Regions from separate parts of the Homo sapiens genome. Here regions 1 and 3 are each linked to region 2. The links are contacts of gene promoters, found by promoter capture Hi-C in blood cells and fetal thymus (Javierre and others, 2016). All regions are on one chromosome and are shown on one strand. The core of a region is centred on a gene start or on the middle of the fragment in contact, and the rest is flanking DNA. Distances in the headings are between cores, read along the strand shown. Region 1 overlaps OSER1-DT (OSER1 divergent transcript). Region 2 holds the start of CCN5 (cellular communication network factor 5). Region 3 overlaps HNF4A (hepatocyte nuclear factor 4 alpha).

The links. The method cuts DNA at HindIII sites, captures the fragments that hold promoters and counts their contacts. A CHiCAGO score of 5 or more calls a contact.
Region 1: a contact is called between a fragment that was not itself captured here and the fragment with the promoter of CCN5 in region 2, in 4 of 17 cell types (naive CD8 T cells, monocytes, fetal thymus and 1 more). The highest score is 7.3, in naive CD8 T cells.
Region 3: a fragment that was not itself captured here is called in contact with the fragment with the promoter of CCN5 in region 2 in 6 of 17 cell types (total CD8 T cells, naive CD8 T cells, fetal thymus and 3 more); the score reaches 10.9 in total CD8 T cells.

The regions. Positions count from the first base shown.
Region 1 is chr20:44,217,137-44,221,125 of GRCh38, forward strand. All of the region lies in intron 2 of OSER1-DT (OSER1 divergent transcript), which reads left to right. Among named protein-coding and RNA genes, the nearest start is that of OSER1-DT, 8.2 kb to the left of the region's middle. The HindIII fragment of the contact is 2,529 bases long and covers 1,026-3,554 here.
Region 2 is chr20:44,712,880-44,717,177 of GRCh38, forward strand. CCN5 (cellular communication network factor 5) reads left to right here and starts at 2,490. Exons shown (of 4, transcript NM_003881.4): 1 at 2,490-2,571. The coding sequence starts at 2,512. KCNK15-AS1 (KCNK15 and WISP2 antisense RNA 1) reads right to left here. Exons shown (of 5, transcript NR_132377.1): 4 at 3,746-3,914. LOC124904911 (a long non-coding RNA gene) reads right to left here and starts at 1,895. Exons shown (of 2, transcript XR_007067598.1): 1 at 1,062-1,895. RefSeq lists a silencer at 1,789-2,083. The HindIII fragment of the contact is 18,609 bases long and covers 232-4,298 here.
Region 3 is chr20:44,380,672-44,385,109 of GRCh38, forward strand. All of the region lies in intron 1 of HNF4A (hepatocyte nuclear factor 4 alpha), which reads left to right. HNF4A-AS1 (HNF4A antisense RNA 1) reads right to left here. Exons shown (of 3, transcript NR_172878.1): 2 at 3,852-4,001. Among named protein-coding and RNA genes, the nearest start is that of HNF4A-AS1, 13 kb to the right of the region's middle. The HindIII fragment of the contact is 3,770 bases long and covers 183-3,952 here.

The DNA of each region.
Region 1 (3,989 bases), core at 1,040-3,539, 500 kb before region 2:
ATAATTCCAGTTGTCTACTGGCTTTCTGGAAACATGACTGGGGACTGTTGATGCCTTTGACAGTTGATTCAAGCAGCAGGACCTTTCACAACAGCCTCCTGTTTTTGTGGATGGGGAATAGGCAAGGGTTGGGAAGCGGGAATTCGCCGCTCTTTCTTGTCATTCTCTTCATAGCCCCCAAGCTACTGTGGTCTATTGTTTTGATAGTTGCTTTCCCGAAATGTTAACAGGATGGAGAGTAAAGGAGGTAAAGGAGGACTCTGATGCCTCAGCCATGCGCCTGTGTGCCGATTCCCATTAAGCCTGCACCAATTTGATTTCCAAGACTCCAGTCAATCCTCAGAGCTCCAGGAGGGGAGGGGCAGCTTTTCCTGGTAGCTGCTGATCACCAGCAGAGGGAGCCCTAGGACTGCAGGGCCTCTTTCCTTACCGTTGGTGAAGCCCTTCACTGTGGCTTCAAAACTGTGGAAGACCCGGGATTTGTGGATCACTTGCCTTTAGAATAGAATCAAGAAATAAAGCTGCAGAAGAAAGAATCTCCATGTGGTAAGGATTGGAAGGGAGTGTTGAGAGGGGCTTTTGGGGTGCTGGTAATATTGTTCTTTGACCCGATGTTGGTTATAGGAGTGTGTGCTATAATGTGGTATATGTACATTTTTCTGTGCGTATAACTAAACTTCAGTTAAAAGTTTTTAAAACTTAAACATCTCTATGTATACCACAAAATAGGTATCAGGTTAGGGTGAGCGGTTTTTTTCCCTACAATTCTTAACCTTATCTGAGTCACAAGACAGCCCTCCCTCCCTTCCTCCGAGAAAGCCACAGACCACTGGTTAAGGACTTCTCCTGCAGCAGCCGAATAGAGAAAGTGAGCAAAGGACATGAGCAGACGGTTCACAGCAAAAGAAATACAAATAGCACTTAAACTTATGAAAAAATGCTCAATCTCAATCTTCAAAGAGAAGTGCTTATAAAAAGTATGCGGAGATACCATTTTTAACCTGTCAGATTGGCAGAAATCCCAAAGCTTGACAGCATGCCCTGTGGATGGGGCTGGAGGTGGGGGAGTCGGGAGAATAAATAGCAGGACTTTTAATACATTACCAGTGGGATTGTGAAATTGACAGCCCTGTTGATTTGGGCAATATCTACCAAAATTACAAGTCTAAGAGTCTACCCTGTAGATGACATTTGTACCTATATGTAATAATTTATGTAAAAGATGATCCATTGCAACATTGGCTGCAATAGCAAAAGATCAGAAACAACTGAAGTGTATGTACAGGACTGGTGCATCCACAAAGCAAAATACTATATAACTGGGAAAAAGTTTGAGGAAGCTGTGTGTGCGCTGAGGAAAGATCTCTAAGATATAGGTGAAAAAAAGCACGACGTACAGCTAAGAATATATGTTTGTATTGCTTCTATCTTCATAAAGAAAAACTGATAAGCTAGACAAGTAACTAAGAAGTGTTTCAGGAAGTGGTTGGGGGCCAGCAGGAGGGGCCGGGCTTCTGAGTGTATACCTTGTGTTCTGATTTTTGAATCATGTCAGTGTATAACCTGTGCAAAACAAAACAAAGTTTAGAGTTCCTGCTCTAAAGCTGCTGAGCTAAGCCTTTAGGAATTCATAAATTATTATATCTGCCCAATTAAAGAATAGGTGGGTTTGGTTTTTCAGTTTGAACTGAGCTGTGTCTTGGTGAGAGTCTTCAGCTTACTCCACATTTGAACACAGTTCAGGAAAGTGTATTGCAGTTTCCTGGCTCAGCCTAACTCTCAAGAATTCTTTCTTTACCCTCCATATGCTCAAAACCAATCTTGCCCCTCAAGTGTTGACACTCAGCTAGCTATCATTTTTCAAAGTATTTCATTTTCAGCTTATGTATTCATGAGCATCTAACTCTGCCTGAGGGGGAGAAGAGAAGTTTTCACCAGAAAAGTATATCTGTGTTTTCAGAAACCAATAGATATGAAATCTTGCTCTCCATCCCTTATCTTTGCCTGTCTCTATAGCCATCCTTTCTCCTTTCCCTCCTCCTAGCTAAAACCAATCCCAGCTCTCCTCCCTTCTCAGGAAACTCACTTTCTTCTGTATATGCAAACACACATCATGTCTTCTGTCATAGTAAAACCAAAAACAAAAAAAGCAAACCCCAAACCCACAAAGCCCCCTTCTACCCAGGTTCCCCACAGAGCTCCTGTCCTTTTCTCCCTGTTGGAGCCTTAGCCAGTGGCTCTACTTCTTCCCCTCTCCACCCACCCCCCTTCTCTCTCTCTCTGGGTCGGTCTCTCTCTGTCTCTCTCTCTCTCTCAGTGGCTGTACTTCTTCCCCTCTCCACCCACCCCCCTTCTCTCTCTGTGTGTGTGTGTGTGTGTGTGTGTGTGTGTCTCTGTGTCTCTGTCTCACCACCCTTTCTTCAATCTACTGCAACCAGACTTCTATCTCACCAAAACGTTCCTTGCCAAGGTCATGGATAACCTCCTTGTTGCTGAATACAGTGGCCCTAGTCTCATTCTCATGTTGCTTGAGTTTTGAGCCCTGCCTGACGCTGAACACAGCCGCCTCCTCCACTCGCTCTCCTTTCAGTCCCTGTGGCCACTGCTCACAGGGGCACCCTCTCAGCCTCACCTTTTCTATCTCCTCTGCAGGCTCCTCTTTTCTTGCCGGTCTGCTGACCCTCAGGGGCCATGCCTTGGCTGTCTTCTCATCTCACATTCACTTCCAGGATGATGCCGGGTTGGAGAATATGGAAAACAAATCTGACTTGCTCGAGTGAAAAAGGAATCCACTAGAAGAATGTCAGAAAGCTCACTCAACAAAAGGAAAAGCTAAACAGCTAGGCCTTATCAGCCTGGGAGCCAGACCGAGCCCTTCCCAGGTGCCAGGAATCTCTGAGCATTGCCTCAGGCGATTCAGTTCCACACATCTTTGTTCCTGATACATCTCTCCGTACAAGATTCAAATTCCCAGGAAAGAAACTGATTGGCTTTCATGGCAGGGTCATATTTGACCCACTCCTACTCACAGGGGCAAAAACTGTAACTTCCTTTGTATTTTTTCTTTTTCTTTTCTTTTTTTTTTTTTGAGATGGCGTCTCGCTCTGTCGCCCAGGCTGGAGTGCAGTGGCACGATCTCGGCTCACTGTAACTTCCACCTCCCAGGTTCAAGCTATCCTCCTGCCTCAGCCTCCCGAGTAACCGGGACCGCAGGCATGCGCCACCATTCCTGGCTAATTTTTGCATTTTTAGCAGAGACGGGTGTTTTACTATGTTGGCCAGGCTGGTCTCGAACCCTGACCTCAAGTGATCTGCCCGCCTGGACCTCCCAAAGTGCTAGGATTACAGGCACGAGCCACCACACCCAGCCCTGTATTTTCATCTAATCTCATTTTCATCTCAAACTTCCATTCTCCCAACTTGAGGGGATATTTCCTTCTCTTCTGGTTTACAGCGCTCTGTTTTGCACAGATATTCAGTGTTCAGGATCCTCCTCTCTCCTGTGTGCTCCCATCCTCCCGGCGTGGCATCTGGGTATAAGGGGGCAGTGGGTAAGCTTTATGGCTCAGATGCCATTCCCTGCCTGTTGCTGGTCTTCACTCCCACGTGGTCGCTCGGAATTTGTCCCCGGGCATTACGGATTATGGTGGAACCTACCAAAATGGGGTGAACCTGATTTAGTTCCTGAGCAGTACACGGACCTGCTTAGAAAATTGCCTGTCTGTAGCCATGAGGTCCTCATGTGCCACAACCCTCGCAGCTTGTCACCTGGCCTCTCTTTGTCCCTCAGTCCACTTAGCACATCACTGGGACATGTGGACACATCTGGATTACCACCTACATGGCACCCACAGGTCAAGGGGACAACGGGCTGCTGTTACCACAGCTTCGGTGCCAGCTTAGTGCTGTCACGTGGTCAGTGGGGGGCATCTCTCCCTGGGCTGTGCTTGGGAAAGTGGGATCCTACTGTCCCCCAAACCTGTCCAGAT
Region 2 (4,298 bases), core at 1,240-3,739:
CTTTATTGATCTAAGTTCTAACAATTGGTGCAGTAACTGTTGGGGTTTAATAATGTATATGTAAAGCTTCAAATCAGCACATTTTTATTCTTATCCTTTAATAAACATATTCTACATGGAAGTCAACTTGACTTGGAGAACTTTAAGAATCCTATAGTTGCCCCCAGAGCATGTGGTCTCAGGAACACACATCAGTTGAGAGTAAGCTCCTCACAACTCTGGAATCTTCCAAGCTTGCTTTGAATGCATTCCTGTCTCCACCGTCCAGCATTCATATTTCTGCATTTATTTTTATTATTATTTTGTGTGTGTGACAGAGTCTCTCTCTGTCGCCCAGGCTGGAGTGCAGCGGCAAGATGTCGGTTCACTGCCACCTCCACCTCCCGGGTTCAAGCAATTCTCCTGCCTCAGCCTCCTGAGTACTTGGGACTATAGGTGTGCACCCACCACGTCCGGCTAATTTTTGTATTTTTTTTTTTAGTAGGGACGGGTTTCACCATGTTGGCCAGGCTGGCCTTGAACTCCTGATCTCAGGTGGTTCTCCCACTTTGGCCTCCCAAATTACAGACGTGAGCCACCGGCCCAGCTGTATTTCTGTGTTTAAACAGTAGAGTGAAATCAACTATGAACGCAGAATGATGGGAAAGATGACGATAAGGGTATTTCAATTTTGTCATTTTACGAAACTACTTGGAGTTTTGATTTGTATTTACAGTTTTTAAAAGAGTAAAACAGTGTGAACTGTGAATGGTAATGATTTTGTTTGGTAAGTGCAAATTTTAATTCATACATGAAAAATATTTGTTTTGTTTCATGATTATTACTGAAAATAATTTTGTACTATGAAGGAAGAGGGGTGTTAAAAATGATCCACTGTGGATGTAAATTATTCTAGGCATGCTTCTGACTAAAACATTAGCATTTCCACAAGAATCCCAAAAAATAAAACAAAATTTAAAAGATCCCTTCTGTTTCTTTTCCTCCAAGTTTCCAGACCCCCATCTCCACCCTGGCCACCTCTTCCTGCCATAAATAATCAAATCCCACACTTTCATCTTCACCTTCCGTTTCCATTGCCTCTTCCGATGGGACAGCACCCGTGGGGAATCTCCTCCATGCTCACAATCCCCGTCTTGCCACTATATCAAGTCACACTTCTTCCTCACCAATCGCCCATTCTGGAACCTCTGCTATCCAGCTAGATCACTTTGAGGTTTGGACAACTACTGGTGGAGGTAATGGGGGCCCCAGACAGCCCTTGACATCACCTCTTTTATCTTTGCCAAATTCTACAAACAAAGCCCATGTCTTTCTGTCCCCCGCCCCCATGGCTGGCACATAGTAGATGTCCCCAAATCTTGGTGATGTGAACTTGTGTGTCTCACCCTTCACAGACATCACCATTTCCCGTTGCACAGAAGGCTCCACTCATACCAGGCGCTTTGGCTCCCAGAATAAGCAGGCTATCATGCTATGTCCGACATCTAGGCGTTGGTACGTACTGTTCCCTTGGCCTGGAACATTCTGCCCTCTCTCACCCTCTCTTTTCTTGGCTTTCTGAAATGGCACCTCCATCAGAAAGTGTCCCTCACTCTTGGTCTGAGCAAGGGACCTTGCCTGGTATTCCTGAACTTCCACCTGTTTTCCCTCTGTTTTCTCCCTCTCTGGGCCTTGTCCTCAGGTCAGTGTTGTGCCTCCAGCTCCTGCAGAGGCGAACTCAGAGGCGGCCGAATGAAACCAAATGGATTTGGCTTGACCCCATCATCTAGCGGTGCCCAGCAAGCGCTGGCACATAGTAGGTCCAGCCTGCCCGGACTCGCCCACCACGGGCCCCCTTCCAGAGCCGGGAGGCAGGCCAAGGGAGGCCCCTTATTGCCAAGAGCAAACAGGCCGCCCAGGGAAGTTTTGCTCTGGGTCACACCCACCTCTGGGTGGCTGCCAATCTGCCTGCCAGAAACCGCAGGCTGGGCCGCGGCTACCCAGAGTCAGGGCCACGGAGCTTAGGAGACCTTGGGTCAGCTCTGCAAAGGGGTTGTTTACTGAATGCTTCTGGTATCTGCAGCCCCGCTGGGGTTCGGACAGGGGGTCTGGAATAGGGCTTCACAACTACAGCAGGGCTAGGACCCTCTTGGGCTGGAAGGAGCTGGAGAGGCCTCTGCAAGCTGTCACAGGCTCTTGGTGCTGGCACTGGCTCAGGCTTTCACACACACACACGCGCACACACACACACACACACACACGGACAGGCACCCCCTTGGTGGCCTTCACAGTTTCACCTTCAGGTAAATGGGCTCATCCTTTGAGCCATGAGGATGGGAAGCGAAGCAAGGAATGAAAAAGCTAGTGTGTTTGTGTGTGTGTGTGTGTGTGTGTGTGTGTGTGAGCGCGCGCGCGCGCGCGCGTGTGTACTCGTGCGTGTGCCTGTGTGTGCCTGGGAGTGACCTCACAGCTGCCGGAACATAAAGACTCACAGGTCCGCCTCCCAGGCTCAAAGCTGGCTCTGCAGGGGACATGAGAGGCACACCGAAGACCCACCTCCTGGCCTTCTCCCTCCTCTGCCTCCTCTCAAAGGTAAGGAGGCCCGGGCCCTGGAATGCACTGCTGACTATTTGGGTGTGGAGGGGGTGGGGATGTAAAATCGCAGCCAAGGACCCCCTTGGCAGAATTCCTCCAGGGCCCCACATTGGGCACAGTCTGGCCCCCATGCCTAAGCAGGGCTTCTCTCCCTGGAACTCAGAGCTGCCTCCGGCCAGCCCTGCTGTGTGACCTCAGATATGTGTCTTGCCTTCTCTGGGCCTCAGCATCTTCCCAGGTGAAGGGTATACAGTTTGTGAGGCCTCTGTGAAGACCATTCATGATCATTCATCAAACTTACCAGGCAAATTGAAGAGGACTTTAATGTATCCTCATTATGAATGGGGGCACTCAAGACATGACATGCTTGGCCTAACTCTGAGCCAGCATTTGGATGGATGCCTAGCTGATTGGAAGGTTCATTCTGCAAGGGCATCAATGCTGTTGGACTCTTAGGCAGTGAGTGACCCGCCCGCCCTAGCTAGAGGGGAACAGGAGACACCTCTGTGGAGTAATGGCCTTATCCCTGAATGCTGCATGGGACATTCACCAAAGAGCCTGTGGGACATCTACCTTGTCTAACATGCACAACAATCCCATAAGGAATTTTCAGTTAAGTGAGGCTCAGAAAGGGTAAGCAACTTGCAACCCCAGTTTTCAGTCAAGTGAGGCTCAGAAAGGGTAAGCAACTTGCCCAAAGCCACACAGCAAAGAAAGGTCAGAGCAATAGAGGAGAGCCATGGTGGAGCCCAGAATGACATGGATGTAGGGGGAGAAGCACTCCAGTCTGTGCCTCCCCAAGCCCAAACTGGACCAAGGCCACAGCTGCTAAGCCTTGTCATCCCCTCGGCAAATGCTGAGTTCCCAGAGCCATGGAATCGGCCCCACCACAAGCCACGATCTCACTGTATTTTCACGCTCCTTTGAGGAGCACGGGCAGGAGCTTCTCTCCCTCAGGCTCCAAGTCTTCGTGCCTGGGAAGCCTGAGAACCACGCTGGCATCCTGTCCTGCTGTTTGTTCTTCCAAAGGGGATGGGTAGGGCATGATGCCAGTGTGGGTGGCTTGGGTAGTTGGAATAGGGGACTTGGGGCTCTAGGAGGGAGAAGGGGCCCAGGATTATACGAGAACAAAGTAAAGCTGTCCTAGACTTGCCATTAGGGTGAGACTTACGGGACCATTCTTCCCTGGTCCCAGGAAGCAGGGACTGCACAGAAACACAGGGACTTAGTCACCACAACATGGAAAGCCACAGCAACCCTCAGAGGGAGAACTGTAAGTCTTCCAGGCTGGCCGTTGGCTCCGGGGCTCCTGGCTGTGGACCGGGGCAGGAGGCAGACACCTGGACACAAGCAAAATCACATTGATCAAGGACTGGCCAGAACCTCATTTAATCTCCATCATCACTCAGAAACAGGTTGTCTCTACTCCAGTTTACAGAGGAGAAAACTGAGCTTCACCTCCACCTTCCAAAGCCGTTTGTCCACATGTTCAGTCACGTAGCAAGTCACTGGCAGAACTTGAATCTCAACTCTTGCCCAAAAAACTCCATGCCCAGTACTCCTGCCCCAGATATCATGAGCCTTGCCCCCCACCACCAGATATCACAGCAAGGCCCTGGGGAAACTGAGGCACAATGGGACAACTTGAGTTTGGGCCTTGGATGTCAACTTGAACTTGGATGTCAATCCTGATTCTGTCTCTTACTGGCTGTGTTACTACACGG
Region 3 (4,438 bases), core at 818-3,317, 330 kb before region 2:
TATCAGATATATGATTGGCAAATATTTTCTCCCATTCTGTAAGTTGCTTTTTCACTCAGTCAAGTGTCCTTTGGTGCACAAATTTTTCTAATTTTGATGTAGTCCAATTTATCTAATTTTTAAAAATTTCCTGTGCTTTTGGTGTCATATCCAAGAAATCATCACCAAATCTAATATCATGAAGCTTTTCCCTTATGTTTTATTCCAAAGGTTTTATACTTTTCCGTCAAACTCATTTTTAGTTAATTTTCGTATATGGTGTAAGGAAAGAGTCTGATTTCATTCTTTTGCATGTGGATATACAGTTTCCCAAACATGAATTTGGTTTTGATAGTACTTTGTTAATTAAGACTTTTGCACCTGGTAGACGCTCTTTGACCTCTAACCCACTGGAATCCTCTCACCATCCTTCCCTGACAGTTGACCATTTAGCTTGGGCTTAATACTTCCAATGACGGAATACTCACTACTTAATAAAGCAGCTTTTCCTGTGGTAGAACAATTGTATTTTATAGAAAGATCTCCATTTTGAGCCTCAAGTTTCCTCCCTGTAGCATCCACATTTTGGTCCTCGTTCATTCTCTGAAGCTGTAGGAATCAGTGAGAGCTTTTTTTTTTTTTTTTTTTGAGACAGAGTTTTACTCTGTCACCCAGGCTGGAGTGCAGTGGCACGATCTCTGCTCACTGCAACCTCCAACTCCAGGGTTCAAATGATTCTCCTGTCTCACTCTCCTGAGTAGCTGGGACTACAGGCACATGACACCACATCTGGCTTATTTTTGTATTTTTAGTAGACGGGGTTTCACCATGTTGGCCACGTGAAACTGGTCTCAAACTCCTGGCTTCAACTGATCTGCCTGCCTCAGCCCCACAAGTGCTGAGATTACAGGCGTGAGCCACTTCACCCAGCCAGTGGGCACTCTTTTCCAAAGGAAAGTACTTTGTTGCCTTTTTTTTGAGACTGAGTCTCAATCTATCACCCAGGATGGCGTGCAGCGGCACGATCTCAGCTCATTGCAACCTCTGCCTCCCAGGTTCAAGTGATTCTTGTGCCTCAGCCTCCCAAGTAGCTGGGATTACAGGTGACTGCCACCACGCCCGGCTAATTTTTGTGTTTTTAGTAGAGACAGGGTTTCACCATGTTGGTCAGGCTGGTCTGGAACTCCTGACCTCAAGTGATCCACCCACCTCAGCCTCCCAAAGTGCTGGGATTACAGGCCTGAGCCACCGCACCCGGCAGGAAAGTACTTTGAATTGAGTAAATAACGCAACTATATGCTGGGCAGCTACCTGCCAGGTTTATAAGGTTTAACACATTTACTCCACAAAGCAATCTATGAAAAGGTCCTATCATTGATTCCTATTTTATAGATGAAGCAAATAAGGCTTGAAGAGCTTATGATTTTAGCAAGGTCCAACAGCTATGTAAATGGCACCACTGATATTTCAAAGGCAATGGCCCTGACCACTCTGCTACACCACCTTTCTCTCCTCTTCTCCAATACCCAGCCCAAAACTCTTTTGGATCTTTGATTATTCTTCAAGGGGCATAGCTTTCTTTCTTTCTTTCTTTCTTTTTTTTTTTTGAGACGAACTCTCGCTCTGCTGCCGGGCTAGAGTGCGGTGGCGAGATCTCGGCTCACTGCACCCTCCGCCTCCCAGGTTCAAGCAATTCTCCTGCCTCAGCCTCCCAAGTAGCTGGGACTACAGGTGCGTACCACTACGCAAGGCTAATTTTTGTATTTTTAGTAGAGATGGAGTTTCACCATGTTGGCCAACATGATCTCGATCTCTTGACCTCGTGATCCGCCCGCCTTGGCCTCCCAAAGCGCCAGGATTACAGGCATGAGCCATGCCGCTGCACTCGGCCTAAGGGGCATAGCTTTCTCATCCTCTGCCATCCTAGGAAAATTTTAAGTATTCATATTAAAATGAAAACTAAACACAATTGTCCATATATGCTCCTTAGGAGTAGAATGCCAAGGACCTCTTAGCTCCTCTGACCTGGGAACTACATTCTCTCTAATGATACATACGACTGGGTTAGAGGTTTGGGCAGCTGCCACCAAGTAAAACCTCTAGAATTTTGCTATGTCACTTTCTGCTAAGGTAGCTTTTCCCATCTACACTAAATAAATAAATCATCCAGGTGATTTATTTTTAACCAATGCAGAGGATTTTTTACTTATCTCCATGGAGTTCAAACATTTCTCCAGGCTGGGTGGGGTGACTCACGTCTGTAATCCCAACACTTTGAAGACTAAGAAGGGGCAGATTGCTTGAACCCAAGAGTTCCAGACCAGCCTGGGCAACATGGTGAAATCCCATATCTACAAAATATAGAAAAATTAGCCAGGGGTGGTGGTCCACACATGTAGTCCCAGCTACTCTGGAGGCTGAGGTAGGAGGATCATCTGAGCCTGGAGACTTGGAGGCTGCAGTGAGCTGTGATGGCGCCACTGCACTCCAGCCTGAGTGACAGAGACCCTGTCTCAAAAAAAACAAACAATAATTCACCAAATCTATTTGGATCTGGATCCTGCCATCATTTTATAGGTAATGCCTCCATAGCACTCACTAAGTGCCAGGCACACTTCTAAGCCCTTTTTATACATTAACACAAATAATCCCCACCACGACCTAATGCCATACACATCATTATGGTCACTATTTTGCAAATAAGAAAACAGTCACAGAGCAGTTCAGTAACTTGTCCAGGGTCACACAGCTAGTCCATGACTGAACCAGAATTTAAGCCCAGGATGTCAAGTTCCAGAATTGGTACACTCAGCCTCAATACTGTGCTGCCTTCAAATATTCTGACAATCTTAGACAGCTTTGGGGATCCAAAAGATTGAGAAGTACTCTTGGGGACCTCTTTTTTTTTTTTTTTTTTAAATACGGAGTCTCAACTCTCTCCCCCAGGCTGGAGTGCAGTGGTACAATCTCAGCTCACTGCAACCTCCGCCTCCTGGGTTCAAGTGATTCTCCTGCCTCAGCCTCCCAAGAGGCTGGGATATTACAGGCACATGCCATCATGCCCAGCTAATTTTTGCATTTTAAGTAGAGACAGGATATCACCATGTTGGCTAGGGTGGTCTTGAACTCCTGACCTCAAGTGATCTGCCCACCTCAGCCCCCCAAACTGCTGGGATTACAGGCATGAGCCACCGCACCTGGCTCCCATTTTTTTTTTAAGACGGAGTTTCACTCTTGTTGCCCAGGCTGGAGTGCAATGGAGCGATCTCGGCTCACTGCAACCTCCGCCTCCCAGGTTCAAGCAATTCTCCTGTCTCAGCCTCCTGAGTAGCTGGGATTACAGGCACATGCCACCACACCCGGCTAATTTTTGTATTTTTAGTAGAGATGGGGTTTCCTCATATTGGTCAGGCTGGTCTCGAACTCCTGACCTCAGGTGATCTTCCCACCTCGGCCTCCCAAATTCCTGGGATTACAGGTGTGAGCCATCACGCCTGGCCCCTGGCTCCTTTTTTTTTTTTTTTTTTTTTTTTTTAAATAAAGACCAAAGGTCCAGAGGCTTTGAAAGGCAAATAGTATTAAGTCAGGATTTGATATCAGGATTTCTTTCATTCTGTTTATTTTCTCATTGCTTTCTACTTATGATACTGTTTCATTTGGTAGTAATAATATTTCTTTCTAAAATAAATTGAAGTAAAAAGAAGTGAGTTGATGTAAGAAAAATGTTACAGATATGAAAAAATCATAATGGTCATTAAAAAATTAGTGAAACTTTGGAAAGACTGTGTTCAGTCAAGTGAAGTGAAGTTAGCTTGCAACCACAAAAAAACCCCTAAGTCTCAATGGTTTGAACAGCAAAGTTAATTGCTCACCTATAGTACACGCCCAGCATGGGTCGGCAGGGGGCGCTCCGCGTTGTGGAACGATTCATATCTATACTTGCTTCCCCAACAAGGGCAGCACTGGCCTTTAAAGCTTCTGCCCAGGTGTGACACAGGTTGTTTCTGCTCACATCTCGTTACCTGAAACAAGTAACATGGTCACATCTCATTTCAAAGGAAGCAAGAAAATGTAATCCCCATCATGTGCCGGAAAGGAGAGAAATAGAATAGTTGAGAACAGCCCTCAGAGAGACTATAAGTAAGGGGGCATAAAAGATGGGTCTAGAGAGATAGGCTGAGTCATGACTCACTGAATTTGTCTGACGTAGATCATGATGGCCCATCCCACCAAGTGGCCAACATTTGTTCCCAGAAAAGGGAGTGTGATGATCCCCCAGAAAGAACACAGTCTGACAACATTATTCTGATGAGCAGACACACCTCTCAGGCTGCCACTCAGGAGTCCTTTTGGGTGGGGAGGTGGGGATGCTGATATTTCCTAAGTGGTTTCAGCTGAACTCTGTGATCTTTTTTTTTTTTTTTTTTTTTTTTTTTTGCCTATTCCCTGAAGGGAGATG